7 separate regions of the Homo sapiens genome follow, and all the other regions are linked to region 6. The links are contacts of gene promoters, found by promoter capture Hi-C in blood cells and fetal thymus (Javierre and others, 2016). All regions are on one chromosome and are shown on one strand. The core of a region is centred on a gene start or on the middle of the fragment in contact, and the rest is flanking DNA. Distances in the headings are between cores, read along the strand shown.

Evidence for each region. The method cuts DNA at HindIII sites, captures the fragments that hold promoters and counts their contacts. A CHiCAGO score of 5 or more calls a contact.
Region 1: a fragment that was not itself captured here is called in contact with the fragment with the promoter of LINC02551 in region 6 in 2 of 17 cell types (total B cells and naive B cells); the score reaches 7.2 in total B cells.
Region 2: a contact is called between a fragment that was not itself captured here and the fragment with the promoter of LINC02551 in region 6, in 4 of 17 cell types (total B cells, neutrophils, erythroblasts and 1 more). The highest score is 6.7, in total B cells.
Region 3: a contact is called between a fragment that was not itself captured here and the fragment with the promoter of LINC02551 in region 6, in 2 of 17 cell types (total B cells and naive B cells). The highest score is 6.3, in total B cells.
Region 4: a fragment that was not itself captured here is called in contact with the fragment with the promoter of LINC02551 in region 6 in 1 of 17 cell types (total CD8 T cells); the score reaches 6.8 in total CD8 T cells.
Region 5: a fragment that was not itself captured here is called in contact with the fragment with the promoter of LINC02551 in region 6 in 1 of 17 cell types (naive CD8 T cells); the score reaches 5.1 in naive CD8 T cells.
Region 7: a contact is called between a fragment that was not itself captured here and the fragment with the promoter of LINC02551 in region 6, in 2 of 17 cell types (naive B cells and total B cells). The highest score is 8.9, in naive B cells.

What each region holds. Positions count from the first base shown.
Region 1 is chr11:129,899,323-129,902,022 of GRCh38, forward strand. It overlaps PRDM10 (PR/SET domain 10), which reads right to left. Exons shown (of 21, transcript NM_199437.2): 21 at 389-2,700. Among named protein-coding and RNA genes, the nearest start is that of NFRKB, 5.1 kb to the left of the region's middle. The HindIII fragment of the contact is 1,898 bases long and covers 323-2,220 here.
Region 2 is chr11:130,191,311-130,194,010 of GRCh38, forward strand. All of the region lies in intron 7 of ST14 (ST14 transmembrane serine protease matriptase), which reads left to right. Among named protein-coding and RNA genes, the nearest start is that of ST14, 33 kb to the left of the region's middle. The HindIII fragment of the contact is 2,906 bases long and covers 1-2,700 here.
Region 3 is chr11:129,933,319-129,936,018 of GRCh38, forward strand. It overlaps PRDM10 (PR/SET domain 10), which reads right to left. Exons shown (of 21, transcript NM_199437.2): 9 at 1,783-1,900. Among named protein-coding and RNA genes, the nearest start is that of NFRKB, 39 kb to the left of the region's middle. The HindIII fragment of the contact is 2,948 bases long and covers 1-2,700 here.
Region 4 is chr11:130,166,319-130,169,018 of GRCh38, forward strand. The region is part of intron 1 of ST14 (ST14 transmembrane serine protease matriptase); the gene reads left to right. Among named protein-coding and RNA genes, the nearest start is that of ST14, 7.9 kb to the left of the region's middle. The HindIII fragment of the contact is 771 bases long and covers 1,011-1,781 here.
Region 5 is chr11:130,149,153-130,151,852 of GRCh38, forward strand. No RefSeq gene overlaps it. Among named protein-coding and RNA genes, the nearest start is that of ST14, 9.3 kb to the right of the region's middle. The HindIII fragment of the contact is 3,598 bases long and covers 1-2,700 here.
Region 6 is chr11:130,860,852-130,863,551 of GRCh38, forward strand. LINC02551 (long intergenic non-protein coding RNA 2551) reads right to left here and starts at 1,259. Exons shown (of 6, transcript NR_125383.1): 1 at 1,115-1,259; 2 at 925-977. RefSeq lists enhancers at 620-1,120, 1,121-1,621. The HindIII fragment of the contact is 6,813 bases long and covers 918-2,700 here.
Region 7 is chr11:129,915,896-129,918,595 of GRCh38, forward strand. It overlaps PRDM10 (PR/SET domain 10), which reads right to left. Exons shown (of 21, transcript NM_199437.2): 14 at 2,644-2,700; 15 at 1,232-1,342. Among named protein-coding and RNA genes, the nearest start is that of NFRKB, 22 kb to the left of the region's middle. The HindIII fragment of the contact is 1,046 bases long and covers 847-1,892 here.

The sequences.
Region 1 (2,700 bases), core at 22-2,521, 960 kb before region 6:
GACCCCCCCTCCAGTGACTGAGTTCCCTGGAGTTTTTAACCTCTCAGATTTCTCCACGCTGAGCCTGCAGCAATTCATCAAATATAGTTCAAGTTTTCCTACCCTGGCGCTGGTTCTCATAGAGGTTATTGATCGTGGATTTTTTTCTCACGGGTTTCTGTTCAATAAGCTATGATTCTCTGTATTTGCCTGTTTGTCTTTCCAATTTTGGGGACAGCAGTTTGTCCTGTGGGCTCAACTTTCTGATGGATCTAAGGAGAGATGTTGATCTTTCCATTTGCTCAGCTTCTTACTTATTGCTAGGATGGAGGGACAACTTCCAAGCTTCCTGTATGCCACGCTGGAAACCAAAAGTTGCAATTCTTCAAAGAAAAAAAAATAGCTCTTGTAGCTTCACACATACAAACATGTTTATTAAAAAATATATTTATTAATTTTTACACCTGCTGCATAGCACAAGACTATTAACACTATAACTCACTGAATGTACAATAAATGTTCACATTTAAATAACAGGATAGGGTCAACATTTTCAACCAGTGGGTCAGCTTTAGCATCTCATGAAGTGCTTTTTAGACCTAGATATCTTAAGAGTTTTTTTGAAAGGATACTTCCAAGTCAGAAAACAAGAAGATCAAAACAATAGGTTTTTCCAGAATAACAGGAATTTTACATGATGAAATGTCTATTTCTGTCGGTACAAATCAATGATAAAAACAAAATCTACATCCAACCTACTCCAAAATACTCACACTGGACTGAATGAAGTCTACAGTGTCAATGTGTCTTGAGAGAGGCCACAATATCCACACTGGCTACATACATGTTTTCCAAATTAAGTTTTCTGATGGCTCATCATTTGCCATCTCTTCAAATCCAGGTCCTTTTAAAAATCTATGACCTTGGAATGAATGTGCAGAATACCTGATCTGAAAGCCATGCGATTTGGCTCGACTGCCATCCGCATCTCTGGCTGATAATATACAAATTAGTTTTAGAGTCTTTATTTCACTTAAGGACCAAAGAAGAAGAAGAAGAAGAAGAAGAAGAAGACAACTTAGAAGGGAAAGCAACAAAGAGGTCCTTCCACAATATTTTCCTCTGTGTATTTTAAAACTTAAAACAACTGCCATAAAATGAACATTCCATTCAGTGATTCTTTTCAGTTTTCCAATAAGTTATTCCTGAAGGGAGGGGAGATACCTTATGGTTCAAATTAAAAAGAACGTAACAGGGCCAAATTTAAGTTATAAAAGCTAAAACTGAACCTTTAGAAAATTCCACTAGTCTTCTCCTAGAAAGTCTTTCTAGACCGGACACTAGGATATTTGTAATCATTACACTGTGGGACTTAGGGAACCCGAACCTGTGTTTTGCAATGCAGGGTCAATATTTTCTGTTGAATATCTTTGTCACAAAGAGAGTCCATTTTCAGTTTCCATATGTTTATGAAGTAATTTTCTCAAGTTCTCTTAGTACTCAAACATTGGGGAACAACTACATGAACGCAGTCTCAGAAATAAAGTGCGAAATCTACACATCAATAAAGTTCTTTTAACAGAATTGTTCACTTTTCAGAAAATTGTCTTTATCATAAAGAAGCTACTCTACTTAATTTATAGAACCAGTTTTTACCCAGAAATGTAAATTAATTAACTTCATTTGAAATGAAGTAAGGTCTTTCTGTTCTGGAGTAATAAATTCTACTATGCAATAATTATTCTGAAAATGTGTTAGCATGTCACAAAAAGTTAAAATATATACTGATTTTTTAATGCCCAACTAATAGTATATTCATAAAGACTGGATTTCTTCCAGATCCCTTATAACTACCTGAATTATTAGAAGTGGCCATCACATTTTAATTTTTTCCCTAAGTGTGAAGTTGACCGTCTTATTAAAAGGTCTAGATGAGTCACAATATGTTTAAAGTTAAAAATGTTAATAAATAAGAAATGCCACCTTCCTGTCCAACTTTAAAGAATGTTCATTTTAAGACAGCATTAAAAGTAATAAAATACACTGAACATGTCAGCAAGAGTTAAATGTACACTTGGTAAGAACAAGGAATATATCCTTTACCAATGAATGATAAATGGATCCTGCAAGGCAGAACAAAATTTCAATACTTTCTCTCTCTCTCTCTCAATAGTTTTGGAAATTTTTCTTGGTACCAATATCTCCTTCTTACCACCACCACAACCACAGAATGGGAGGCAAAGCTTTAATGTAGGGGTTTAGATTCTGCTGACATCAAGCAGCCTTTTCTCTTTCAGGTTGTCCACCTTTGTGAAATAATGAAGAACTATCAGAACATGAGCTTCTGACCTAATCCACTGAGGACCAGCATCTGTGGAAAGCACTACCAACAGCCCAACAATAGTTTTCTAAAATAGGGAAGTTAAAAAAAATCAGCAAGAAAAATTTAGATGACAGTTTTTGCTTCAGAATATCACTGTCAAACTTTTGTTTCATCATTTTAATTTTGTTATTCAGCAGGCTCCCTTTGTTAAATTACTGAAAACTAAAACAAGATAAAGCAGTTCAGACCTAATGCACACCCACAAAATGCCCCTTCTCCTTTGGTGCCATGGCTTGGAATAAGAAGTCCAGTAACCATGAACTTGGCACATCCTGTCTCCACCTTTGGTATGAACACAATATGCCACTTAATATTTCCACAAAGGAAAAGTAAGGCTC
Region 2 (2,700 bases), core at 87-2,586, 670 kb before region 6:
AACAGAGAAAGAACCTGCCTCAGGCCACATGAGGAAACACCAGGTTGGTCAAGGGGTAACAGGAATGAGGGGAAAATGTAAGCAAGAGCCTTTTATGGGCCGGGCATGGTGGCTCACGCCTGTAAGCCCAGCACTTTGGGAGGCCAAGGCGGCTGGATCACTTGCGGTCAGGAGTTTGAGACCAGTCAAGCCAACCTGGTGAAACCCTGTCTCTACTAAAAATACAAAAATCAGCTGGGTGTGGTGGCGGGCGCCTGTAATCCCAGCTACTCGGGAGGCCAAGGCGGGAGAATCACTTGAACCTGGGAGGCAGAGGTTGCAGTGAGCCGAGATCGTACCACTACACTCCAGCCTGGGCAACAGAGCGAGACTCTGTCTCAAAAAAAAAAAAAAAAAAAAAGAGCCTTTATATGGTTTACACAGAAAAGGCAAGACAAATCAGGGTGAGAGGTTTAGAACTGGCTTGTTTGAATAATTTCAGTAGGCTCCGGGGCATAGGAGCTGTCCCTAGTTCTCTGATACTTGGGCCTGGGGTGGTTAGGGCAAAGAATAGTGGCCCTGAGTGTGAGATCCTTTCGGAGGAGGTGGGGCTGGGCCCCCATAGGTGGGTTTGCATAGGGAAGGTTTGCTTGCAGGTGAGTCCTTTCCTATCTCTAAGCATTGGCCAGCCTTCCACAGTCAGCAGGGCCTCAGATGTCAAAGCACCTGCATTACAGAAAACGGAAAGGCGTGGTTAATGCACCTGTGGGATACCCCACGTCAGGGTGGGGCGTACCTCGCAGAGGTGCTGTGCGTGGTGGGTGAGCCGCCTCTCCTGCACTCGCTGGGCCAGAGCCTTCCGTGGCTGTCTAGGGAAATGAGCTCGGCGGACGTTTCCTGATTAATAATGGGCTAAAATTCAGGCCAAGAACAACCTAGAACCATCTGCCGCCACAGCTTCGTAACCAGGACTTCTTTTCCATCTCTCTAATTTATTAATTGTACAACAAAGAAGTACATGTTCCCAGTGGGAGAAGGAAATCGGCAAGCAAAAGGAAGACTAAAGTCACTCGTCATCTTACTGTCTAGAAATAACCACTGTTAATTCTTTTTCTTTGAGATGGAATCTCGCTCTGTCGCCCAGGCTGGAGTGCAGTGGCAAGATCTCGGCTCACCGCAACCTCCGCCTCCTGGGTTCATGCGATTCTCCTGCTTCATCCTCTCGAGCAGCTGGGATTACAGGCATGCGCCACAACACTCAGCTAATTTTTTTTGTATTTTTAGTAGAGATGGGGTTTTACCATGTTGGTCAGGCTGGTCTCGAACTCCTGACCTCAGGCAATCTGCCTGCCTTGGCCTCCCAAAGTACTGGGATTACAGGCGTGAGCCACAGCACCCGGCCAAATTTTTGATGTCTATTTTCCCAGCCTTTTTTGCTGTGTGTGTGTTAAGAAATAGGATTATCCCGTGCATTCAGTCTCATTACCTGCTTTAACAAATGAAGTATATTATGATGGTCTTTCCAAATCAGTCACCCTCTCTCTCAGGGTTTTTATAAGGTTGCATTGTTTAGAAGGAGGGGACACAATCAGGATGACATGGTTGTGAGCAGTGTGGACTCTGGAGCTTGAATGCCTGAGTTTAAATTCTAAGCCTGCCACTTATTAACCATGAGATGTTGGGCAAGTTACTGAACATCTCTGTGTCTCAGTTTCCTCACCTCTGAGATAGGGGTAATAGTATCTACTTCATAGAGCTGTTAGGAAGATTATGAGTTAATAGATTTAAAAGCACCGAGAACCATGCCAGGCATGTTTTTTTTTTTGAGTCTCCTTGTCACCCAGGCTGGAGTGCAGTGGCGCAATCATAGCTCACTGTAACCTTGAACTCCTGAGGCTCAAGCAGTTCTCTGGCCTTGCCCCGGAGTAGCTGGGACTGCAGGCAAGCGCCACCATGCCCAGCTAGTTTTTTTGATTATGGAGATGAGGCGTTACCCAGGCTGGTCTGAAACTCCTGGCCTCAAGCAATTCTCCTGCCTTGACCTCCCAACAGGCTGGGATTATAGGCCCGACCTTGGCATGTTCTTAATAAATGTTGATTGTTACTACTGCTGTTGTTCTGATTGAGCCCACAGTTTATTTAATAAATCCTCTGTTGTGGGCATGTATTGTGTCTAGGGTGTTGCTCTTTTTTTTTTTTTCTGACAGTCTCGCTGTGTCGCCCAGGCTGGAGTGCGGTGGTGCGATCTCGGCTCACTGCAACCTCCGCCTCCCGGGTTCCGGTGATTCTCCTGCCTCAGCCTCTGGAGTAGCTGGGATTACAGGCGTGCACCGTGATGCCCAGCTAATTTTTGTATCTTTAGTAGAGATGGGATTTCACCATGTTGGCCAGGCCGGTCTCGAACTCCTGACCTCAGGTGATTCACCCGCCTTGGCCTCCCAAAGTGCTGGGTTTATAGGCGTGAGCCACTGCGCCCGGCTGGGTGTTGCTCTTTGATTGTGACAAAGGTGAACTGTTTATCACTAGCGCCTTCCATCAGTGATTGTGACAAAGGTGAACTGTTTATCACTAGCGCCTTCCATCAGTGATTGTGACAAAGGTGAACTGTTTATCACTAGCGCCTTCCATCAGTGATTGTGACAAAGGTGAACTGTTTATCACTAGCGCCTTCCATCAGTGATTGTGTGGGGGAGGGACTTACTTGAATGAAGGTCTTTTTGA
Region 3 (2,700 bases), core at 25-2,524, 930 kb before region 6:
ATTCCAACATTTTTCAAACCATGGCCAACATTTTCCATCTATATCCCCACCACTTGCCCACACACATACCCAGTAGATGACTTGGAAGCAAATCCCAGATATCTTTTCATCTCTAGATATCTTGGCATGTCTCTCTGAATCATAAGAACTCTTTATATATATATGACCACAATACCATTATCACACCTGAGAAATATCTGAGAGTTGCTGAGTATTATTATATCTAGTCAAAGTTCAAATCTTCCTAGTTGTCCCAGGTTTCTCTTAACAGTTGGCTAACAAACATATTACCTACTGTGTATCACATACTGGGCTAGGCACTAAGGACATCAGATTACAGGCAACAGATTTTACCCTCAGGGGTCTAGAAAAGGGAGCTGGCATATAAACCAAAAATCACAATATAATATAAAAAATGCTACAATAGAGCCATGAACAGAGTTTTGGAGATTCCCAGGAGTGACTCAAATCTCACTGTGTCCACCCCCTCCTTAGACATTTACCCCTGTGGTCACATTCTAGACCCTGTCACCCTTGTAAGCCTCTTCATGCCAATCCCATGCACTGCCCACTCGGACACTACCCTGGCTCTGTAGTTTACTCCCTCTAGTACCCAGCACTCAGCAACCCTTCAGCCACGCGAGCATCTCCAGTTCAATCCTTCCGGTGCTTTCGTGCAGCTCTGCATCACTGCCTTGATGTTCTCTCCCCTTCTTCCACAGCATACGCTCCAAGGTCATCCACTGGAACCACTCCCTCGTGCGTGCTCTCAGTTCCCATCCCATGGCTGCTCTGTTTTCTCAATGTGTGTTATGAGCACTTGGCAAAGCCACAACCCTGTGTAATTCAATTCCCTGCCTGCTCTGCACCAGCATCCCTGCAGCTGAATGAAGCTGGAGAAAACGCACAGCCATGCTAGTGGGCTCACTTTCATTTCATAACCATGAACCCCAAGTGGGCATTTAATAGAGTGGGCAATTGTATGGTACTTCCCTAGAACATTCGCTTTCCCACTTACCCAACTACCATCTCACACATCTCCTCTCTTTCCAAACCCTAGAAAAGCTGGCAACCCTACATCTGTCCCCCTGGCATGAGCCTACTCCAAACCACCCTCATTCCTCCCCCAAACTATTGTGATAGATGCTAACAGGACTCCTTGTCTTCACTCTTACTCTAATATAAGCTAGTGATTATTTTTTTCCAGGTGTTATTTTTATCCAAAATGGTTTTCAAAAAAAAAATACAATCAACATCACAATACTCCCCGACCAAAACCCTCTAAAGACTTCTCATCACACTTGGAATAAAATCTAAATTTCTTACCATTTCCCATAAGGCCCTACCTGATCTGGCCCCTGCCCACTTCATCCCATATGATTCTCCCCTCATCTGTCTTTTTTATATAGTGGAATTAAACATATGACTTGGTTTGATTAAGTAATTGTACTGCTGAAAAAAGTCTGAAAATCAGAGATGCAGATTATTTTAAAGGTATGTCCTATCTCAAAAATTCCTATTTCGGAATCTCCAATTAAGGGAGATTTACCTAAGGTGAAAGCATCTCCCATTGCTGGGTATTGGTTATGCTGGAAAAGATGGATAATAGTAAATGAGGAGCAGAGGGAAAAGGAGATGACAGGTAACACCGTTCCCTCAGTAGCCCACCTGGTTACCTATCTATACATGACACTCGGAGACACTCATTAGCTAGTGGACAATATAGAAATGATTCTGAACCTTTATGAACTCAGTCTGTGAGCATTTCTCCCTCATACATACCTGCTAAACACATCTAGTTTCTCATCATGAGAATTGAGATGCTGTTGCAACTGCTCCGAGCTTATAAATCGGCGGTTACATTCATAGCAGGGCCAATTCTTCTCTTGCTCTCGAAGAACTACAGTCACAGGAGAGAAATCATAAAGGCTGATGACCAATAGACACCAGTAAAACTCAAAAGTCTGCGATCCCCACCATTCTTATCTTGCTGCAGCCCAAAGAGTTCATAACTATATAGTATCTGCTATTTGCATTACTGTTCTATCAAATCAAAAGCTAAAATTTGGCAGAGAGTTGCTTTTTAGGATCTTATTTTCTAATGCATCCATACAAGACATCAAAGGAACAAGTACCCTCACATCACCCTCTCACAGTCCTCAAAACACACACACAACTTCACCACACCGAAAACACATAAGATGTTACAAAGATCTGTGTTCAGATAACCTAGCGATTCAGACCCAGGTTTCCTAATCTGAGGGTATATTTTAGCACAAATAACTTAAAAGTCAATGCCCAGTATAATTAGTTTAGCAAAATGTTCAGAAGCATCCCCTAAGTTGAATATAGGCATATCCATGACCCAGCAACTCCACTCCTACATACATACCCAACAGAAATGTGCACATATGTTCACTAAAAGACATATAAGAATGCTCACAGCAGCACTCTTCAAAATAGCCAAAAACTAGAAACAATCTCATCATGTAATAAGGAATCTTCCTGGTCTTTGTCCCTAGTTGGTAACCTTTAAGTCACTGGAATTTCCTGAGTAACAGGAGTGTCTTTGTTATTCACGGTGTCCCACCTCACAAACATACCCAAATTTATTCTAATGAGATGCTTCAGAGCAGGGACAGGCCATGCAGGAAAGCTCAACCTTGTAATTAGAAATGTGGGGCTTTGAGCCAGGGGTTA
Region 4 (2,700 bases), core at 146-2,645, 690 kb before region 6:
GGACAAGGTGTTTTATTGGCCTCCTGTCTGCTGGGTGTGGAGCCCTGGGTGTTGGAGGATCGAAGTTCTGGTAGGCTTGTGTCTGATTGAAAGGCTGTGCCTAAGGGGGGGTCTGTTCTTGAATCCACGTCACTTTGGGTGGTGACCTCAGGCTGCTCGTCACCCCTTCCTGGGTTCTGTGCCATTTCTTATTTAGTAACAGCTCAGATGAGGACTTGGGGCATTTGCCTACCAGCTCCACAGATGACACCAGCTGGGAGGGAAAGGCTGATACCTTGTATGACTTGATTATGAGTCAGAGCATCTGGACAGACTGTCTGATAGGCTGCGCTGAGCAGAATGCATCCGTCTGGGTCAGGAGTCAGTGCTTTGCTCACTGAACCACCTCCCTCAACCATGGAGCAGAAACCACGAGACCCAGAGTTCTGAGTTGACAGTGAGCCCAGGAGAGATCAGGCATGGAAGTGTGACTGCCCAAAGTCGAAGTGTGCTTTCTTCCCCCTATGTTTTTATTTGGTTATACCTTTTAAAGTTATTATTAAAAGTCTAATATATACATATTTAAAGAAAACTTAGCCAACTCAGATAAGTAGTAAGAATTTAAAAATGAGGCCGGGTGCGGTGGTTCATGCCTGTAATCCCAGCACTTTGAGAGGCCAGGGCCGATGGATCACTTGAGGTCAGGAGTTCAAGACTAGCCTGGCCAACATGGTGAAACCCCATCTCCACTAAAAATCCAAAAATTAGCCAGGCATGGCGGTGGGCACCTGTAATCCTAGCTACTCAGGAGACTGAGAGAGGAGAATCACTTGAACCTGGGAGGTGGAGGTTGCAGTGAGCCGAGATCGTGCCATTGCACTCCAGCCTGGGTGACAGAGCGAGACTCTGTCTCAAAAAAAATTTTTTTTAATAAAAATGACACAAATACCCCTACAAAGACATTTTAACAATTTGGTATTGCCTATGCATGTTTTCTAAAAAAATTTTTTTCCTCATTACCACATTTAGGAAGCTTTTCTTTTTGAAGTCACACAATATAGAAATGTACAGTGTAAAATGTGAAACTTCTGAAATTCCCTCTCCCAGATTTTAGAGCCTCTATAAATAGTTTTGTTTATATTCTCCCACAAGTCTTGTGTGTGTGTTCTGCTGTTTGTGTGCACACCTATTCTCCTCCAAATGGAATCATCACTAATTCCACTCTGCAGTAAAGATATGATTTTATTAATGAACTTATCAAACATTTATTAGATATCATACCTCATGCTAGATTTGTGGAGCAAGACAGACCCCCTTCCCTCCCCTATCACAGGAGTCTGGGAGGGAGGTGTTGGAGAGGGATCTCCCAGAATTACTCCAAGGAGATGCCTGAGCTGAATTTCGAAGGGCAGGAGTGACTATTTTTTTTTTTTCTGAGATAGGGTCTTGCTCTGTCGCCTAGGCTGGAGTGCAGTGGCGCGATCTCGGCTCACTGCAACCTCTGCCTCCCGGGTTTGAGCAATTCTCCTGCCTCAGCCTTCCAAGCAGCTGGAATTACAGGTGTGCGCCACTGCGCCAGGCTAATTTTTGTATTTTTAGTAGAGATGGCGGTTTCACCATATGGGCCAGGCTGGTCTTGAATCCTGGCCTCGAGTGGTCTACCTGCCTTGAACTCCCAAAGTGCTGGGATTGCAGGCATGAGCCACCGTGCCCAGCCTATTTTTTTCATTTAACATTCTATCTTAGATAGCTTTTCCATGTCATTATCTACTTTTTGAAAAACGATTTTTGATTGCCTTATAAGCTTTCATCGAGGGAACATATCATTCTTTCCATCTTCTTATTTTAATCGTTTTATTGTTTGGGTGTGTTACTTGAATGCATCATTGGACAATTAATAGAAAAAGAGCAAACAGAATGAGGAAGGTAATTGGCAAGCAGACCCTGTGGAGGCCACGCTAGTCAGACCTCTTGTGGGTTATGCTGGTGAATTCTGGAAACGGTGTCTTCAAGGGAAGATGACTAAGGGTGAGATGGAACCAGATGGCCAGGGTTTAGAAAACATTTTGTTTGAATGATCAGAGGAGTTGAGCATGTTTAGCCAGAGGAGGTGCAGACTGAGAGAGCACACGAGCACCGATGTAGAGCTTCCACTGGAGCGTCTCCTGAGTGGGGAAACTAGGCTGGTTCTGTTGCAGTGCTAATTAGTGCAGAGGTGATTGCAGTGCTGATCACACTTGGTGGAAGGAAGAGCTTCCTAATACTCGTACTAAGGAAAATGCTATTTCTTCCAAAAGGATGGTCTCGCGAGGATGAGAGGTGGGTGACATGCCCTGCAGAATCTGTCTCGGCTCTGAGAATCCAATTTCAAGGGTAGATCCAGCAGTTCTCCCCTCGCTTGTATCCTATTCCCCCAGGATAGAGTCTGGTTCTAATAGAGGACACAGACTTCCTGGTGCCCTCCCCTGGGGGTGGGGCCCCTCTGTTTGCATAGTTGGTCCTTTCCCCAAAACAGGTGCTCAGATTTGTAGCCATGGAAGCGTGTTTTAGAACTTACCCAGTTCTAGAGGCTGCAGGCAGGCTTGGGTTTTTCCCACTAGCTTCTGCAGATCCCTGGGTCCACCAAGTCAGAAACAGACTGTGGCACCTCCATGCCATGAAATATGACTCAGCACTGAAAAGGAACAAGCTGATGGATGCAACAACTTGAAAGACCTCCAG
Region 5 (2,700 bases), core at 22-2,521, 710 kb before region 6:
AGTCAATTATACCTCAATCAAGCTGCTTTTAGTTTAGTTTTGTTTTCTGCTGTGTGTGTGTGTGTGTGTGTGACGGAGTCTCGCTCTGTCGCCCAGGCTGGCTCACTGCAGCCTCCGCCTCCTGGGTTCAAGAGATTCTCCTGCCTCAGCCTCCCTCGTGGCTGAGACTACAGGTGCCCACCACCACACCTGGCTAATTTTTGTACTTTTGGTAGAGATGGGGTTTCCGCATGTTGGCCAGGCTGGTCTCAAACTTCTGATCTCAAGTGATCCACTTGCCTCAACCTCCCAAAGTGCTGGGACTACAGGCGTGAGCCATTGCTCCTGGCAAGAAAAAAAAATATTTGTATTTCGTGAGCAGAAAAATCTACGTATATTACACTATGAGTGGAGCTACATTAGAAACATCTGTGCTTTCATCCAAACCTCCCATACTCTAAAGGTGGTTTTTTACTTGTTTCTTCAAATCTGTGTATCTTCTAACAGTATTTACTGACAGAAGAATGGACTATAGTGTTGCCATATCCTTTTCTGTGGTTTTTGTTTGTTTGTTTTGAGACGGAGTCTCACTCTGTCGCCCAGGCTGGAGTGCAGTAGCGCGATCTCGGCTCACCGCAACCTCTGCCTCCCAGGTTCAAGCAATTCTTCTGCCTCAGCCTCCCGAGTAGCTGGGACAACAGGCACCCACCATCACGCCTAGCTAATTTTTATATTTTTAGTGGAGACGGGGGTTTCACCATATTGGCCAGGCTGGTCTCAAACTCCTGACCTCGTGATCTGTCTGCCTCGGCCTCCCAAAGTGCTGGGATTACAGGCGTGAGCCACTGTGCCCAGCCTTCTGTGTATTATTTCAGCCACTTTTCCTGTGGCAAGAAAAAGTGATTCCACCATGGTTTATGGCTTTTTGCTTTTAGCATTTAATGAAGAAATCTCAAGCTGTGCATTTATCATTTCTTAATGAAACTTTGTAAATTACTAAATCGAGTATTGCATGACTTTAAGCACTGAAGAGATTGTAGTGGCTTGTCTTCATGTACTGGGCATTTAAAGTTTAAGTCTCATTAATCACATTGGCCTCATAATATTAGTTAATACCTCAAGACCCAACATACATTTACAGTGAAGAATATCACTATTAATAGTAAATGTAAATCCATGGTCTTAATAATTGAAACTGTTTGGGGAATGACTTCTTAGATGGTAAATGTTTTCAGCTGATGACTGAGCTCAGAATGTAAACAAGGGAATCAGCGGACTTTGATTTTAATGAAACCTGTGTATACCCCACGCGACACCCTGGGCCAGGGAGCAGGCTGGGCCAGAACTACACATATTAGATGGAAGGAGGGATGAACTTGGATGTGCTGATGATGTGGACAGGGCAGAGGAAGTCAGAGAAACACAGAGCATCAAACAAGTGGCCCACAGTGAAATGCATTTCCAGAACACACTCCCAGACTCGACTCACATTTCCGTGCATCTGCATTTACCCAGTTTAGGGACACTCCAGTGTCTCTTGAACAACCCTCTTAGATTTGGAGACTTTCCATCTTTTGAGTCCTGCCTACCTCAGGCAGAAACCAGAACTCTCCTTCTCAGCTCCCTTGTAGGTAGGGCACAGACATGTAACTTAGGATCTAATGAGATGCACTCACAAGAGACTTACTCAAGAGGCCACAAAGAAAGGACGCAGGCACTGCAGTGAGCCCACTTTCTGGTGGGATGCAGGTGGAAGCGTCCTGCTCCTGGGACGGCAGCGGCACTGGTGAGTGGGTCTGGGCTCAGGGGATGAGCTCTGATGGTATCAGCTTGGGCGGGAGCAGTGGGGCTGTCCCTGCAGCCTTGTGGTGTGTCTGGGGCCTTGTTTCTGGCTCTGTTTCCTCCTCTCTCAGCTCTCTGGCCCTCCTAGACATTCTGTGAACCGCCTAACAATTTTAAAATAATTTCCTTTTTTTCCCCTCAAATTAGCTATTCTATTGTTCGTGAGCTGCAAGTTGACAAAAATTCCACTAAGGGCCAACTCACTGAACTCTAATGGGAAAGTTGTACCTGTTGCCTTCATTTGATAAAGGAGACAGAGTTTTTTTTAAAAAAAGTGATGTGAGAACAAGAATTATCAGTGTGAAAAAGAAAATACAGATCTCAGCTCGAATAAGTCAGTACTCTGTGGTCCTAAATTAGAATTGGGAGAATCAATATGAACATGATGGGTGTTTTATCTCTTTCACAAAGTTCTGGCTTTGTCTACCAAAAGCCCCAGAAACAAAGACCAGCTAGAAATGAACATCCCCTTAGAGGATCACTTTTCACTAAAAGCTATTAGGTTGTCTTAAAGAAACAGCTGATTGCATGTGTGGGCAGGAAAAGTACAAGTTGAAACTGCAACATCATACCAGAAAATAAACAAAAAATCAAAGATGACAAGAATTGGGTCAAAAGGACTCAGAGCTGACTTAAAGAAGGTCCCAATGGCCAAAGAGGGTACACTTTGAACATCAGTAAGAATAAAAACAGCAATGAACCCAGACATATCAAATATGTTTGATACCAAGAGTTCATAATAATACAAAAACAAGCAAAAAACAAGTGGTTTGTGAAAGCAGTTTGTGAAACCCCGTCTCCACTAAAAATACAAAAATTAGCCAGGCGTGATGGTGGGTGCCTGTTGTCCCAGCTACTCGGGAGGCTAAGGCAGGAGAA
Region 6 (2,700 bases), core at 9-2,508:
TGTGTGACAAGGTGAAGCAGCCCAGACAGAAGTGCCAGCACCACCATCCACTAATTGGGTGACCTCAGCCATGCACCCGAGCTCTGGGCCTCATCTTTCCCATCTATAACATGTGGGCATGTACCTTTGTTTTGGCAAATAAATGACAATATATGCTTTTAGAAACTGGTGGCTACTAATCTTATGTAAAGAATGTGTGTATTTATCTTGCCAAATAAATATATGGTTGCTCTTCAATTTCGGATCATGACAAGTCGATATCATAACGAATTTGTTGTATTTCTTGGTCAGGGAAGAAGGAGAGAGAAAAAAACCAGTGCCTAGTGATGACGCCAAGTCAAGGTAAAACCTGGCCAAGGGTGGACCTGGCTCCAGTGTCTCTTCCAGTTCTCCTTCACCCTGGGGATTACTCATTTATCTCTATGAATGCAGATTTATGGACCTATAAATGAATATATGTGTTAGGGCCACCATTGCTTGTTGTAACTCCACAAAGCATGTTGACCACAAAACCTATTGAGGGCCATAGGGGCCCAGCCTGCAACGCAGCCCATCTGCTCCCTGCATCCTCATCCACCGCCTTCCTTACCACCGCCCACCCACATGCCAGCACTGCCGCGCGGCCTCTGCTCCGGCCGTCCCTTGGCCTACACTGCCTTTTCCTAATCTTTCCCAAGTTGACTCCTAACACCTTTTAAGACTGCCTAGAATCACCGGGAAGGCTTCGCTGGCCCACCCCTGCCCGCCCAGCTTCCCCAGGCTGGGGGAAGTCCTTCTTCTGGGGGCTTCCGTGTGCACCTCTGTGCCTCCACGTCCCTCCTCACACGGTGACTTTCCGATGATGCGCCTGCCTCCCCTGTCCATGGATAATGAATTCACCCAGGACAGGGCTTTGTCTTTTTCATTCCTGAATCCGAAGCTTACCTGCTACTAGAGAATTTGTGAATTTCCGTTGAACACGTGGAAGACCTAGGAAGCTGTGGGGGAGAAAGAATGAATGACTTTCTTCAAGGCCTCCTGGCAAAGCAGCAGTGCAGCGGGAACCGGAGCCGGAGGACGCTGGCTCCTCACCTAGAGCCCTCCCTTGGGTCAGGGTGGCTCTTCTCTCCCATACCTAGCGTCCGGCGCTTGGCTTTGTTTCCCGGAGTGGGTGGCACTGTTTGGCCGCCACAGGCACAGCATCGCCCCTAGGCATCGCCCTCCGCACCCGGGGATGCGGCGTCCCCAGCCTTGCCTTTCTTGATGGCTAAAGCAACAGCGCCACCTTCCGGCCTCAAGGCCACCGGGCGTGGCCGGACTTGGGAGACCTTGGGCGCCCTCTTGTGGAATTTCAGAAGTTGGGCTGCGAAAATGACTCCGTTATCCCCAGCTGACCATGAGGCCCGCTGGGCACTTCCACCTCTGAGGTTTGAGTGGTTCAGTGGGCCTGTGCAGGGAAACCCAGCCTAGAAAGCAAGCCTTTATAGCTACCTTGGTGTAGAAGATCAGAGGCATATGAGGTGAGAAACAGGTGACATGTCACGCTCCCTGGAGACAAAATGTCCAGAAAGCTCCTCTAGGCAGCAAATAAAGAAGTTATGAAAAGGAACCGTGGAGAAAAAAGAGGTGAAGGGAAAAGAAAGGGAATGTTATTCTGACCCACATGCCTCACCGCCAGGGCTGAAGTCACTACTAACAAGGCCATTTAGGAAGAGCAGGCTGGAGTTGACAGCCTTTCCCCAGGAGTCCTCTGGTTTCCAGGTCCCCCGGTTTGAAGCACTCAGGAACACACTCAGCCCCTGAATCTTCACTCAGTTCCGTGGTGTTACTGGCAATCGTTGGATATCCCTGGCTGGGGCTCAGCCTCAGCTCCGGTGTCAGCTACATAAGAATCTCAGCATCTTGGGAACGTGAGCTCAACTTGAAATACACTTCCCTGAAAGGATTACTTTGTTTTGGGACAAGGCTCATATCAATCTGTCCTGCCAAGAGATTACTGCTGTTAAACTGTTGGTTTTCACTGCTGTCAAACATAATCTTACAAGGAGAGAGAGGGGCAATCACCCTCAACACCCAGCTGCAAGAGAAGACTTTTGACTGGGCAGGACTTTTCCTGGCACTCTCTGGAGAATAAAAAAGGAATATGTAGAATGGCTGTTGTGTGATTAATGCTTACACCCACAGTGCGGCTGAGCCATTCCCAGGGGTGCACTGAGTGGGATCCCTCTACATGCAACGACCCTGCTGGCATTTCACAGGTGCCTGTGGAGAAGGCCCATTGAAGACCTGGGGCTGAAAGTGCAGCTCAACTTTGCACATATGCTTGGATTTCCTCTCTATTCCAAGGCAGACAGTCCTCAGGGTTTGGCCTAACACACAAAGGATGGGAAGAATAAAGAAACGATGTTCCAACAGTATTTCTGCAGATCTAAGCTACTGAAGGGATGCTGGACCAACCACGATAGATGCTTCCTTTTCCGCAGTGCCTCGAAAAACACTTAGGAGTGTGAAGGAGTGAAATTTTATGCTATTGGCCTTGTTCTCATTTACTTTTGATTATTATAAAATTATTCTAACGCAAAACCCATAAAAAATTGGTAACTCAGAATCTCGCCAGATGAACTGTTACATCGGACTACGCTCTAGGAAGAAGTATTAAAAATCAAAGATATTAACTTTCCAAGTGTTCATTTCCATCTGTTTTCCCTCTCTGGGACTCAG
Region 7 (2,700 bases), core at 120-2,619, 940 kb before region 6:
ACAGTTCCACTTTCTTGCTTAAAGCAAACTAACAATTTCATTATAAGAAAATGAGGAAAAGTATTCATGTAGCCCCAAATAAAATATATTAATATGTATATTAACAGATCTATTGAAGAGCAAGGATATACTACAAATTAGAATAAAATAAGAACATAATGTAGATATGATAGGTTTCTTTCTTTAATCTATAAATCTAAGATAATAACTGTGAAAATACCCTTTATCCTAAAGTTTAAAATTTGGATATGATACACAGACAGAGGAAGATAATTGTTTTTAAGGCCCATCCACCTCATATGAGAGCTGCCTGTGAAAGCTCTCATATGATGTACGCAGCTGAAGACCAGGAGCCAGAGAATCTTCCAAATGGCAACGTCAATAGCAACTGCTATCTATAGTGGGGAATCTATGTTAAAAAATGTTTCTCACTTTTAAGCTGATATAGCTACATTATATAAGGAAAGGATGGCTGGGTGTGGTGGCTCATGCCTATAATCCCAGCACTTTGGGAGGCCGAGGCGGGCGATCACCTGAGGGTGGATCATCCTGGCCAACATGGTGAAACCCTGTCTCTACTAAAAATACAAAAATTAGTTGGGCGTGGGGGCTGGCGCCTGTAATCCCAGCTACTCCAGAGGCAGAGGCAGGAGAATCGCTTGAACCCAGGCGGAAGTTGCAGTGAGCTGAGATCATGCCACTGCACTCCAGCCTGTGTAACAGAGCAAGACTCCATCTCAAAAAGTAAGAAAGGATATTACAGTGGAATAATAAATATATATTCTGTGTCTTTTCTGTAACTACATGAAAATAATGCAATAGTACAAGTAGAGTACTCCACCACAAAGCTTTCCCAACCCCCTCCACCTTATAGAAACCCCAAAACTACCATATATGTTATAGGTCATGATAAATGCTCTCATTTTAGAGCCTAGGAATTTGAAATTAATTCATACACTAAGCACTAGTAATAAACCTCTTCTTGTGTAACAAAAATCACAGAGAGAAGGGACAGTAAGAAAAATGAAGTCAACTATTTCTTAAGAAAAAAATTTGGCTTAAAATAAGGCTGTATTTCTAGTCCTTTCTTGTCTGAATGGAGACTACTGAGAGACAGGTAACCATCTGGTAAGAGTAACAAAAAAATCGTAGTATATATTTATAAATACGGACAAGTCAGCTCTAAGCAGGGAACCCCAGTGGCATACCAATATGAATATTTCCCTTTTACCTTATCGCAATACTGACAAAAGTAATCACGATTGGGTTTTATGATGGGTAGAGTTAACTCTGGCACCTCTTCTATCTTCATGTCTGGGTGTCTCTTCGATAAGTGATTTACCTAAAGGGAAAAGAAAGAACCAATGAGAAAAAGAGACCCCATTAACCAAACAGAAGCTACACGAATGCCTCTGATAATGACCGCCAGAAGCTGGAATTCTCTGAAGCAATGCCCCCAAATAATAAGGCATTTGGCCAGAACCAGGATCACCAGACCCCATCTGATGCCAAAGCACTCACAGTCATGGTTAACAGGAGTTAACAATAATTCACCAAACAATTGAAGGTGACTCACTGTGGTGAATTCAGCCATCAACAGTCTTTGGCTGAAAGAACTACTATTGGAAAAAGGAAAATTACACTGGTATGAATTTCTTTGGTGAGTTCTCCTCATGCAAACCTGTCTTTCATTATTTAATGCCCTAGTCTTACTAAGAACATGGAATGAGATACAGACTAAGGTTCTGAATTTTAAATATTGCTCTATGACTTTCCAGCACCTGGCAGAAATATATTCTGCACCCGTAACAAGGTCAAAATGAGTTGAGAGCAGAGCACTGGCTGTCTGATGCTTCAGCTAACCTGGATGCACATACCCTGCTTTGACGGAAAGCTTCCTTCTACTGCTGTTTGATATCTGGAAAAGAGAGGCATTAAAAGGAAACAGCTGGGGGCTGGGTGCAGTGGCTCACGCCTGTAATCCCAGCATTCTGGGAGGCTGAGGCAGGTGGATCACCTGAGGTCAGGAGTTTGAGACCAGCCTTGCCAAAATGGTGAAACCCCGTGTCTACTAAAAATACAAAAATTAGCCAGGCATGGTGGTGGGCACCTGTAATCCCAGCTACTCAGGAGGCTGAAGCAGGAGAATCGCTTGAACCTGGGAGGGGGAGGTTGCAGTGAGCTGAGATCACGCCATTTCACTCCAGCCTGGGCAACAGGAGCGAAATTCTGTCTCAAAAATAAATAAATAAAATAAAAGGGAACAGCTGGGGAGAAGGCAAATACCCCATTAAAAAAATACATTCAGGGACACAAAAGAGGGAACTAAAATAAGGTGAGAGCAGAGATTGAGATGGGTAAAGAAAAACAAAAGTAGTAATGAAAAGTGATTAAAAAAAAAAAAAGAAAAAGAAAAAGACCTCTTACAAGAATTGATCCAAAAAGCAGCAAGAGAGAGCAAAGGGAGACTAGAAAAGACAGAACTCCAAATTGGGAATCGTTTGCCTCTGTTTCTTCCCCTGGACATTGACAAAACCATTGATCGATATAACTTAGGACACAATGCAACACAAACGTCACCATCATCGACAGCAATGAGGTATGCTGGGAAGACAGAGGAACCCGCAGCCACTGGGCACTGACCAGCATGCCGCGCCGCCGGAAGCCCATCATGCACAGGCGGCACTTGAACGTGAAGCT